Regions from separate parts of the Homo sapiens genome. Here region 2 is linked to region 1. The links are contacts of gene promoters, found by promoter capture Hi-C in blood cells and fetal thymus (Javierre and others, 2016). All regions are on one chromosome and are shown on one strand. Each heading gives the region's core, a stretch centred on a gene start or on the middle of the fragment in contact. The rest is flanking DNA. Distances are from core to core; before and after follow the strand shown. Region 1 holds the start of TSPAN2 (tetraspanin 2). Region 2 has its middle 170 kb from the start of TRIM33.

The links. The method cuts DNA at HindIII sites, captures the fragments that hold promoters and counts their contacts. A CHiCAGO score of 5 or more calls a contact.
Region 2: a contact is called between a fragment that was not itself captured here and the fragment with the promoter of TSPAN2 in region 1, in 2 of 17 cell types (total CD8 T cells and non-activated CD4 T cells). The highest score is 5.4, in total CD8 T cells.

Annotation. Positions count from the first base shown.
Region 1 is chr1:115,086,707-115,093,059 of GRCh38, reverse strand. It overlaps TSPAN2 (tetraspanin 2), which reads left to right and starts at 3,557. Exons shown (of 8, transcript NM_005725.6): 1 at 3,557-3,696. The coding sequence starts at 3,628. The HindIII fragment of the contact is 10,227 bases long and covers 1,048-6,353 here.
Region 2 is chr1:114,335,410-114,341,161 of GRCh38, reverse strand. No RefSeq gene overlaps it. Among named protein-coding and RNA genes, the nearest start is that of TRIM33, 170 kb to the left of the region's middle. The HindIII fragment of the contact is 3,280 bases long and covers 1-2,890 here.

The DNA.
Region 1 (6,353 bases), core at 2,308-4,807:
CTAGGTAATGTTATGCATGCTCAAGAGTTTAGGAGTGAAACATACTGCCTACAATTTATTTGGAAATAAATAAAAAAAAATAGATTGAGAAATGGACAGATGTATAGATAAGTAATGCAACCAAAGCAAAATGTTTATTGTAGCATCTAGATGGTGAGTATATGGTGCTCCTTGCCCAACTATTTCAAATTTTTTGTACGTTTGAAAATATTCATAATAAAATATTGGGAAAAAATGCAAGAGAAAATATTTTTGTAACTATTTTAGGGCATGTGTGGGCAACAGTTTTAAGACCACTGGCTTCTATTTATCACCATTTGCTGAAGAATCTTTACCCTAAACTTACCATCCAAACCTTTCTCCAGAATCCAATCATATTTCCACATCATCTGGATTTCCCACCATATCTAAAACTCAGCAGATCCAAAAATGAATGTATTGTCTTCCCTCTACCAGTCAGGAATATCTTTAGCTACATGTAACAACACAAAGTCAAACAAAAAGAGGGTTATTTTTCCTATATAATAAGAAATGTGGAGTTAGGTAGCTGCTGGTATTGGTTCAGCAGTTCCACAATGTCCTAGCTGGAAGGTCTGCAATTGTCTTGCCCTTTCTTCATAGTCACAAAATGTTCTAGCACTTCAAGCATCATGTCTGAGTTCAAGACAGGAAAAAGAGAAAAGGGAGCAATGCCAGTGACAGTTTAAAGGCTAACTTCCTTATTATGTCATTTAATGTAGCCCTGTACTTTCTTATAGTAATATACCCTTGAAAATGTATGGAATGCCTTTCAGGCACAATACATACATATATGTTGATGATGGCAATTCCTCATGTTGGAAGTGGGACCTTGTGTGAGGTATTGGATCGGAGTGGATCCTTCATGAATGGCTGGATGCCATCCTCCCTATAATGAGTGAGTTCTTGCTCTGAGTTCACATGTGATATCTGGTTGTTTAAAAGAGTGTGGAACTCCCCACTTCTTTTGCTCCCACTCTCGCTGTGTACACACTGGCTCCCTGTGACCTTCCACCACAACTGAAAGCTTCCTGAGGCCTCACCAGAAGCAGATGTCAGCACTATGCTTCCTGTACAGCCTGCATAACTGTGAGCCAATTAAATCTCTTTTCTTTAGAGATTACCCAGTCTCAGGTACTACTTTGTAGCAACACAAGAATGGACTAACACACATGCGTCCACACACATACACATACATGTACACAAAAACCTAAACCTCAATTGGCTTCAGAAATGGCTAACTCAGTTATGGCGTAATATCACCTATGACTCTGGTTTTTTCAACTTCCTGCTTTGCTGTTTTCAATGTTGGATCTCTCCTCAGGCTGGTATGAAGATGGATATAGCAACTCTATGTATACCATCCAGATCCAACAGCTTCAAGAGGAAGAAGACCATCTGGCCCCTCAGTAGACACCACTCCCATCCCATTAGTCAGGATGCTTGTCAATTTGTTTCCTGAACTAACTACAAGGGAAATGGGATTACCTTCGCCTATTCCTCTCAAGGGTCAGCTTCCCTTAAGACATACAACTTTGTGAAAGGGCGACTGGGCAAGTCTATACTAAAGATCTGAAACTGTTATGTTGGACAGGCAACCACCATCTGTCTCTAATACATGTGTGCTAAAATCGTAGCATGAAAAAAACAAACAATAGATGTATATGTTACAATAGGGGTTCTCTTCCCTCTATATAATCTCTAGACATATTTTGTCTTAGAGATGTAAAATTCAACGATATATTTAAAGTATAATATCATTGTTCATTCAGTTGATTTACTGAACGCCTTCTATGTACCAGACACTACTCTTTAACTTAGTTCTTTTCCTTTATACTAAAACAGAGGTGACAGATATAGAACTATAAGTGTTTGATTGAAGCTAATGATTCACTTCTCTCTGCATACCTAATGACTTCCATCTTTGTCTTTATTTCATTGTTGGAGACATGTTTATTACTAGAATCAGCACTTTCATTTTTCTGTCTTTGACTCGTTTTTATAAATGAGTCGATATTCAAACAAATGTCCAAAGACACAGAGGTAGGCAAAGATGGCAACATGGTAGAAACTGAATGGTTGACTGATAAGAGTGTGATACAATAATACTAACCCTTATGCAGTACTTAATCTGTGCCAGGCACTGTTCTAGGCACTTCACAAATACTAACTCATTTATCTTCACAACTCTATGAGGGGAGTACTATTACCTCCATGTTGCACGTGGGGACACTCGGGGCCAATGACAGTTTGGCACATTGGTCAGCCGACTGAAAGCTGTGATTTGGCTCCTGCCTTCCTGACTCACTCTGCCCCCACCAGGCTTCACTCGGGCTAACTGCGGTTCTCAGAACTCCCTTGGAGGCCTTGTTCTCTCCAGCTCTGTGCTTTTGCGCATGCTGTCTTCCTGGACTGATCTTTTCCGCCTGGGCTCCGTCTTCTAGACCAGATCAGGCCCCTCTCCTTAGCAATGCCTTTTCTGGTTAAGGCAGTCAGGCCAGGCACACCTGTCTAGCACCCAGCCCTTCTCTCCTCACCCTATTTGCTTACAGATCTGTCTCCAACACCAGAGACTGTGGTTCTGGGCCTGGCTGTCTCCTCATTGTTGAGTCCCTGGGGCTTGCTACTATGTCTGGCCTATAATAGGCACTCAAAGTTTTGCTGAATTTATGCATAAGCTCTCCGAATTTTGCTTTCTTGTCTCCCCCATACTGTCTGACACCACATATTGTAGACACTTAGTCAATGGAAGTGGGAGTCTGATTTTCCTGCCAACAGCCTAACTTAATAAAAACAAAGCAAAACAAAAACCGCCCCCTTCCCCTTTCTCCCATCTCCACATCATAATTAAGATCCCGAAAATTTGGGATCCTTCCAAGCCCTCCGATCAGTGGAACCCGGCAGGACATGAGAAGTCAGACTCCCTCCACTGGCCGGCTGGGTTGAGGGCAGCCCACAGGACTCAGGGCGCCGCCTCCCGCACCCTCTCTCAGTTCTTGCCTATTAAGGTAAGAGTCCCCCGAGGAGGGGGGAGGGGCCGGAGGGAGGGTCCCCTAGAAGCTGCTTGTGTGCTTGCTCCGCGCCGCGGAGCCGCAGCCCTGGACACTCAGTCAGGTGCCCCGCGACTGGTCCTGCCAGCTTCGGGGCAACCTCCGACCCCACTTAGCTCTTCTACCCGAGGTCACCTTCCTAGATTTCCATAGCCACGAGACCAAGTGCTTATCCCTCAAGCATCGCCCGGGCCTCAAACCGGTCTCCGCACAGGGCGCTGATTAAATGGGTCCCCAGTCCCCGGTGGGCGCTCCCGCCCTGCAGGTGCTCCGATAGCCGGCGGCGGTGCGCCCACTGGAGGGAAGGAAGGTGGTCCCTGGGTCCGGGAGAAGAGCGAACGTGCTCCCTCGGGCTGCTCGATCTCCACCCGCTGGCGCCCCCACCCGTCGCCAGCCACGCCGCTTGGGGTCCACGCGCCCCTCCCCGCCGGGCCCCGCCCCGCCCCCCGGAGGCCCCGCCCCGGTCCTCCCCGCTCCGCCCCCTCCCCGCCGGAGCCTGCCGCTCCCCGCGCTCGTAGCGCGGGCCTGGGGACTGGGGATCCCGCCGCCGGGCCGCAGCATGGGGCGCTTCCGCGGGGGCCTGCGGTGCATCAAGTACCTGCTGCTTGGCTTCAACCTGCTCTTCTGGGTGAGACCAGGAGCCGGGAGGGCCGGTCAGGGCAGGGGGCCGGGTGGCGGGCGCGGGGCCGGGGTCCCCGAGCTGCTGACTGCGGCGTCCGAGTCGCGCTCGTGGGGAGGGCTGGGTGCTCAAACGCGGAGGCGAGGAGAAGGCAAACAAAGAGGGAGGGGAGGGATGGAAGGGAGAGAACGGGAAGACAGAAGGTTGATCAATGAGAAATGGTGAGAAGGGGAGAGACACCGTGTGGCTCTTTCCTGGAAGGAACCCCCACCTGCCTTGGTTTTTATCTCCCAGCTAGTGACCCCAGGTGCGGGGACCCAGCCTCTCCTCACCTCCGGAGGACTTGGGTCCCTGTTCCCCTCCAGTCTCCCGTGCACACACCCCCTTTTCACTCTGCCTACCAGCTGGAACCAGGGCCTGGCCAGGGTGATGGGAGAGAAACCCCTGCCCTGGGGCTGCCTGGGGTGGTGCTCCATTCGAGTGTGTGGACACTGTACCTGGCTGTGATGGTTTTGTTTAGGAAATTGGAGATAGGAGTGAAAATTGTGGTGGGGGGGCGTCGTCCTTTTTCTGGGCATCAGGGTAAGAGTACCCCTGGGTGAGAGGAGGTGGTGGGTTCTCTTCTGAGAAGGGGATGGGGAATGGAAGGGCTTCTAAAGGGCAGCAGCAGCTCTCCACAACCCCCAGCCGCAGCCTCTGCTAAATACTAATTCTCCCAGAGATGATCTCATTCAACTTTGCAGGGTTTGATTGAACTGACAGCGTTCCCAGGATTCATGGTTCACAGAGAGATAGGATCTTGACCCTTGTCTCCTATATTATCGAGACAGGGATACAGCTAGACCAGACCTACATCCCTGGATACCCTGTCCCAGGGCCTGCAGGACTGTGAGACAAGGTCTGAAAATTGTCTTTTCTGCACATTTCCTCTTGGGCTTTCTTAAGAGAATGTCAGCCAGTGTAACTGCTCAGCTAGACCCTGAGGGGAAACATTGGATAAAGAGGTTTGAGAGCAGCCAGGGCCTGGGTGCTTTGAAACTACCAGGTTGGAGGAGGTGGCTGTCCTATCTGCTCTGGGGGACGTTGTCTTCCCATGATTGCAACTAATTAATTATTGAATGATGGGCTCCTCTTTTGTCTGTCAATCCATTAGCCCAGATGCCTGGGTGACTTCAGCAACTCCAAGCTCTTCAGTATCCTTCAGCAGTGGAAGGTGTGAAGGAGGTACCTCCTCGACATCCCCTGAACTTTAAAGAGACACATGGCCTTTGTACACGTGGGGATTTACATCAAGCATACTATAGGGAGAGGCGTTTCTGAAGACCCTTTATGTTGTATTTTTTAGGAATCTGGCTTAATTTCAGAAGCTGTTAATTATAGATGTCACGCCACAGTGACAACCTTCATTCTCACTGCTTATGAATTCAAAGCCTTATGAAGTTTTAAGCCTGAGGAGGAATTCTTAAGCTGGGTTCAGTGCTTATTTAGTGGCTGATATTGTACCAGCCTTTCCAGTGATAGCTGGAAGGATTCATTGAATGTTTTCAATGTGTCAGGGACAGTGCTAAGCATATTACTTTCATTATTACACATAATCCTCACAAGAGTCCTGATATACATATACTATTATTATCCCCATTTTTTACAGATGAGGAAACAGGCTCAAATTGGTTAAGTCACCTAAGATCACACAGCTAGTGAGTGGCAGGGATGGTATTCAAACTCAGCCTACCTTCTCTTTTTTTTTTTTTTTTTTTGAGACGGAGTCTCACTCTGTAGCCCAGGCTGGAGTGCAGTGGCCCGATCTCCACTCACTGCAAGCTCCACCTCCCAGATGCACGCCATTCTCCTGCCTCAGCCGCCCAAATAGCTGGGACTACAAGCACCCTCCGCCACGTCTGGCTAGTTTTTTTGTATTTTTAGTACAGACGGGATTTTACCGTGTTAGCCAGGATGGTCTCCATCTTCTGACCTCATGATCTGCCTGCCTCAGCCTCCCAAAGTGCTGAGATTACAGGCGTGAGCCACCGCGCCTGGCCGCCTACCTTCTCTTAAGCACTGTGGTACATTCAATTAACCAGTGGTTCTCAAAAGTGGTTCCTGGGCCAGCAGCATCAGCATATCCTGGGAATTTGTCAGAAATACAAATTCTCAGGCCGGGCACAGTGGCTCATGCCTGTAATCCCAGCACTTTAGGAGGCCAAGGCAGGCGGATCACCTGAGGTCAGGAGTTCGAGACCAGCCTGGCCAACATGATGAAACCTCATCTCTACTAAAGTACAAAAATTAGCCGGGCATGGTGGTGGGTGCCTGTAATCCCAGCTACTTGGGAGGCTGAAGCAGAAGAATCTCTTGAACCCGGGAGGCAGAGGTTGCAGTGAGCTGAGATGGTGCCACATTGCACTCCAGCCTGGGCAACAAGAGCGAAACTCCATCTCAAAAACAAACAAACAAACAAACAAAATTCTCAGCTCATCCCAGACTTGCTGAATCAGAAACTCTGGGGGTAGGATCCAGCAATCTAATTTAACAAGCCATTCACATAATTCTGATCCATGCTCAAATTTGAGACCCATTCTGTTAAACAATGATTAAACAAATAATAATTTATAAATATAAACACAGTTCCCTAAGCTGCTCATCTCATTGAGGAAACGAGACCAGTG
Region 2 (5,752 bases), core at 1-2,500, 750 kb after region 1:
TGGTATCCTCCCCACCTCCTTTAAGGGCATGTCCTGGAGATGACCCATGCTGTGGTTTGAGTGATGGTGTCCCCTCCAACATTTACATATTGAAACTTAATCCTCATAGTGGCAGTATTAAGAGGTGGGGCCTTTTGGGAGATGCTTAGATCATGAGGGCTTCTCCCTTGTGAATAGGAATAAAGCCTTCATAAAAGAGCCTTCACAGAGAGTCTGGCCCTTTTTTGCCCTTCTGTCATGTGAGGACATAGCATTTTTCACCTCTGGAGGATGCTGCAACAAGGCACCATCTTGGAAGCAGAGAGCAGCCCTCACTGACAGCAAACCTACTGGTGCCTTGATCTTGAACTTCCCAGCCTCCAGAACTGTGATAAATAAATTCCTGTTCTTCACAAGTTACCCGGTCTCAGGTATTTTGTTATAGCAGCACAATGGATGAAGATAGCCCACCTTTCTTCTTTCACTTCATTGGCCAGAGCTGGTTATATAACCATATCAGCTGAAAGGAGGCTGGGTTAGAGAGAACAAGAGAGTGGATATTGATGGAGAACTTCAATTTCTACCCCAGACTTCATCAGTTAGCCCCCATCAAGTCAGGTTGGATCATTTTTATTACCATTCCAGCCCTCTTGTCTATTATAACTACCATGATTATCTTGTCTTTTGTAGTTAAGTGCCTGAAATCAGCTTCTGCTATTCTGGTATCTTTCCTTTTCCATTAAAATCAGGGATCCCATTTCAACTGCTTACAATTGCATCTTTAGTTTACGGAAATCAGTCACAAGACTGCTTCTCAGAGATAGAGGTGCTCCCTCACCAATCTGGGCCCTCTTCTGGGCCCTCTTGAGAGAGAATTAGCAGATGAATGGGTAGGTGACACATGATAAATCCTCTCCAGCACTTCTATATTCCGAAATTTTTGGATTATTTCTTCCATTGTTTCATGGAATTTCATTTCACATGAGCCACTGTTGAGCCCACATTTCAAAACAACTGACAGGCAGCAATTAGGGCCACTTGCAATGGCTGGAGATAGCACACTGTCTCCTGATTTCTGGTGAGCATACTCCTGATTAATTTCAGGCTGATTTAAAATAATGCACGGTGCTGGACACTGTGGTGCACCACTGTATCCCCTCTCAGAAATGAAGGACTTACTCTCCCAGCTGCTGGGAGTGGGCCCTCAGCCAGCAGCTCACTCTGGGGATGCCTTGAGTGAAGAAATGTCCCTAGCCCAAGGTCATGTCCCCATCATGAAGCAGCCACATCCAACGACTGGTCAAAGTTGGGTTAACAAAGGCTGGCTCCTTGGTTCCAACTCAGAAGAGCTCTAAATGACCATCTAGCTCCAGAGCTATGCTAATTGTGCGCACAGCACAACTGCTTCCTTGCCCAAGGCTGCTTCTGTCCCTTCTGCTCCACAGGGGTGGTCTCAAGCTCACTTCCTGATAAAGGTCTTGCTTGCTAATCTCCACCTTAGAATCTGCTTATCTGAGTCTTTTGGTGGGGATTTAACTTTTTAAGTAATCAAAAGCTCCACTTCCTGCTTCCAGGTCATGCGAGAGTCTGACTCTATTTACAGACTTATGAGCCATGAGTGACGGCGTGGAGGAAAGAGGCATGAGCAGAGCTGGCTTCTTTCTGTGAGGAAGTCTGTGCACAGAGTTAGAGCATCTTCAAACTACGCAGGAGCAGCCTCATCAGACAAGGGAGGGACATGCCTTTTAGCTGGCAAGAGAGACCCGGAGGGTTCCATGTTTGGTGTTCTATGAGTCTCCGAGATCTTCCCAAATGTCCTTATTACAATTTTGGGGGTCGCTGTCTTTTTTTGGGGCGGGGACATGGTTTTTCTCTGTCGTCCAGGATGGAGTGCAGTGGTGCAGTCTTGGCTCACTGCAGCCTCAACCTCCCAGGCTAAGTGATCTTCCCACTTCAGCTTTCTGAATAGCTGAGACTACAGGTATGCAACACCATGCTCAGTTAATTTTTTTTGTAGAGATGAGGTCTCAGTATATTGTCCAGGCTAGTCTTAAACTCCTGAGCTCAAGTGATCCTCCTGCCTTGACTTCCCAAAGTGTAGGATTATAGGCGTGAGCCATCGTGCCCCATGTAGGGGCCACAGTCCTTTCTGAACAATGCCCTATCCTTTATATAACATACCTAGGGAGTTTTGATATAGAAGTTAAGAAATTACTTAGGCAGATAGTGAGGGTAGGGAAGTCCTCAGTAAGATTTTCCTTTTAATGAAAAGCAGCCCCAAATCATTTTCCCTTCTAACAAAGAGCAGCCTGTAAAATTGAGCTGATAGATACCGGCAGTTGTGCCAATCATGTTCAAAATGGTGGCCCCATCTTCCCTTCTCTTTATCAGCCACGTGTACAGTAAAAAGGAGACAAGGTGGCACGGGTCAGCAGGAGAGTTCATTTACATAATAAGATTAGGGCAGGGTAGCCAGCCTTCCCCGGGGCTGTGTAAACATCATACCTGATCCAACCAATCTGTGAGCCCTACGTAAATCAGGCGACATCTCCTCAAGCTGGACTATAAAACCCAGTGCCTCCTCCACCAGCTGGTCATTTTCTGTTGGGAGACCCCTCTCTAGAGAGAGAGCTGTTTCTATTTCTCTTCTCTTCTCTCTATTAAATCTCTGCTCCTAAACTCCTCGTGTGTCTCCCTGTCCTAAATTTTCCCGGCGCGAGATGACGAACCCCAGGGTATATACCCTGGACCATGTAGCTGCTTCAGTATGTCACCTCAGCAGATGTTGAAATTTGGCAATGCACTTCTGTGCTTGGCTTTCAGCTATGCTAGCCTTAAAAGACTGTAAATAAGATATCATTTTAGCACATTACTGGAAAGTCTTTGAGTTGGACATTTAGAGATTTAAGCTTGTCTTCTTTTTTTTTTTTTTTTAACTCTCTTGTTCTCTTGGGAAAAGCTACATTTACAACAGTCTGTATGACTCAAGCTCTTCATTTCATTCTATGCAAGTAGCGATATGGTCTTCAAAGTTTTGCCTTAATGAATTCTTCATTCCAGGTGACTATAAGTGAGCATTTAATTTGAGCAATTTACCACTGTGAGCCACTGACTGCCAGATTCCCTGAATATCAACTGGATTTTAGTATTCTGACTAGACTTATAACCAATCTTCCGGCAAACTCTCCATTTCCTTGTGGCTCTGTCTTGTTGTAAATTTCTTTACTAGTTGGGGTTCTTCAGTGCAAACAACAGTAACCCACTTTGGATGACTTAATCAGAAAAGGAAATGATTTAGGGAGGATATTGGATAGCTCACAGAGACTGCAGTGGGGCTGGAGAACCAGGTTTAGAAAATGAGCAGGAGCCAGGGTAGGATGGGGTGGGGTATACTATGGCCACCCCCACAGGATGCAGATACTCCTGCTTGGACCAACACAGGACGCTGGATGTTACCACTGGCGTCATTTGAATGAAATTTCAGCTATCCCCTGCTTTTTTGTTTCACTAATGAACAAAGCATTGAGCAGAATTAGCTGATTGGCAATACTTGGGTCATGTGACTCATGACCTCAGATGTCATGGAGAGTAAGTATCTGGCCTTTTGGACTTTTGGAGAATTAGTGGGTGTGATGTCTCCGACCAAATCCATACAATGGGAGAGCCTCTGGCATATAAAGTAGGTTCATAAGATGCAGAGCAGAAACCGAACAAAACCAAACCAAGTTCATTACATCCCTCTCCCTCTTTTCTAATAGATTTCCAGTCATTTCCACTTGGATACCCGACAGGCTGCTCAAGCTCCCCATATCAAAACTAGAGTCGTCATCTAACCGAATATGCTTCTTCTTCATCCCTCTTACATCCCTCAACTCAGTTGGTGACATTTGTCTCCATTCATTCAGTTGTCTCAGCTAGGATCCCAAGAGGCTTCCTTGACTTACTTTCCATATCCAATCAGTTACCGTGTCTTTTATTATTTATTTATTTATTTTTCCCAAGATAGAGTCTCGCTGTGTCATGCAGGCTGGAATGCAGTGGCACAATCTCGGCTCACTGCAACCTCCGCCTCCCGGGTTCAAGCAATTCTGCTTCAGTCTCTCAAGAAGCTGGATGACAGGTGCGTGCCACCTTGCCTGGCTAATTTTTGTATTTTTAGTGGAGACAGGGTTTTACCATATTGGCCAGGCTGGTCTCGAACTCCTGACATTATGATCTGCCCTCCTCGGCCTCCCAAAGTGTTGGGATTATAGGCATGAGCCCCGTGCCCCACTTACCCTGTCTTTTAGATTCTACCTTTTAGGTGTTTCATCGATTTACTTCTTTCTTATCTTTATTGCCATTACCCTATTTTAAGTCCTTATCATCCTCTTATTTTTTTTTTCTTTTTTCTTTTTGTTCCTCTTTCAATACCTTCTTAACTGGTATGTAAATTAGTTACTGAAGCAATAATTCTTGAAACTAACCACCCCCAAACCCAGGGATTTACAATGACAAGCATTTCTTCCTCATCTGAGTGCCTACAAGTTGGCTGTGGTTCAATAACCTTGGATTGGGCTTGGCTGGACCTGCCTCAAGTCCCAACTGCATGTTGGGTTTAAGTTTGCCCCATTTGTCTGTCATCCTTCTGGGATTATTGACACCAGAGGCATGCAGCGACATGTTCTTCTCATCGTGGAAGGCAGGAGCACAAGTGCATTAACTCAAACATGCAGGCACATTTCAAATCTCTACTTGTGCCATGCCTGTTAATATCCTACTGGCCAAACTGAGTCCAAAGACAACATGTGGGAAATGAATGGCACCCACCATGAGGACATGGAAGAGGTGTGGATGTGTAATGTTACTATAGTGAAGTGAAGAATTAGGACTAATAATTCAATCTATCACACATGGTTTCCCTGCCTCCAGTCTTGTTCCCCTCTCTCTGCTTCACACTGCTTCCAGTGGTATCTATCCAAAATGCCAATATGAATTTATAATCTTATTGCTTAAAACTTTGGTTTTTATAAGAAAATTGCGAAGGTGTGTCAATAGGTCCTTCATAATTTGACCACTGGCTGCTTCCTCAGTCTCAATTCCTGCCACCTCCACATCCCCACGTCGTCCACTCTGCAACTTGATCTTTAAGATTCAGAAATGGCCTGGTGTGGTGGCTCAGGCCTGTAATCCCAGCACTTTGGGAGGCCGAGGTGGGTGGATCACGAGGTCAAGAGATCGAGACAATTCTGGCCAACATGGTGAAACCCCATCTCTACTAAAAATTCCAAAATTAGCTGGTCATAGTGGTGCATGCCTGTAGTCCCAGCTACTCAGGAGGCTGAGGCAGGAGAATGGCTTGAACCTGGGAGATGGAGGTTGCAGTGAGCCAAGATTGCACCACTGTACTCCAGCATGGTGACAGACAGAGACTGTCTAAAAAAAAAAAAAAAAAAAAGATTCAGAAATATGCTGCTATCATGATTTTACCTTCATGCCTTTGCTCATGCTATTCCTTTGTCTAAGGTGCCTTTATGCCTCCATTCAGCAGGCTAATTCCTATTCTGCCTTCAGCCCTTAATGGAAACATCACTTCCTTCAGGATGCTTTCTCTGTAATCCAGTTGCTGGGCCCCACAGTGGCACCCCAGATATTTTTGTGGATTTACTGGTCATTCTCTAAGGCCATAAGCCTTTTGGGTCTTCATACCTGATATGATGTCTGGCCCATAGAGGGCATTTCTCACACTTACTGACTTCTTGTCCACTCACCACCTGTCCCTCAGAACTCCTGC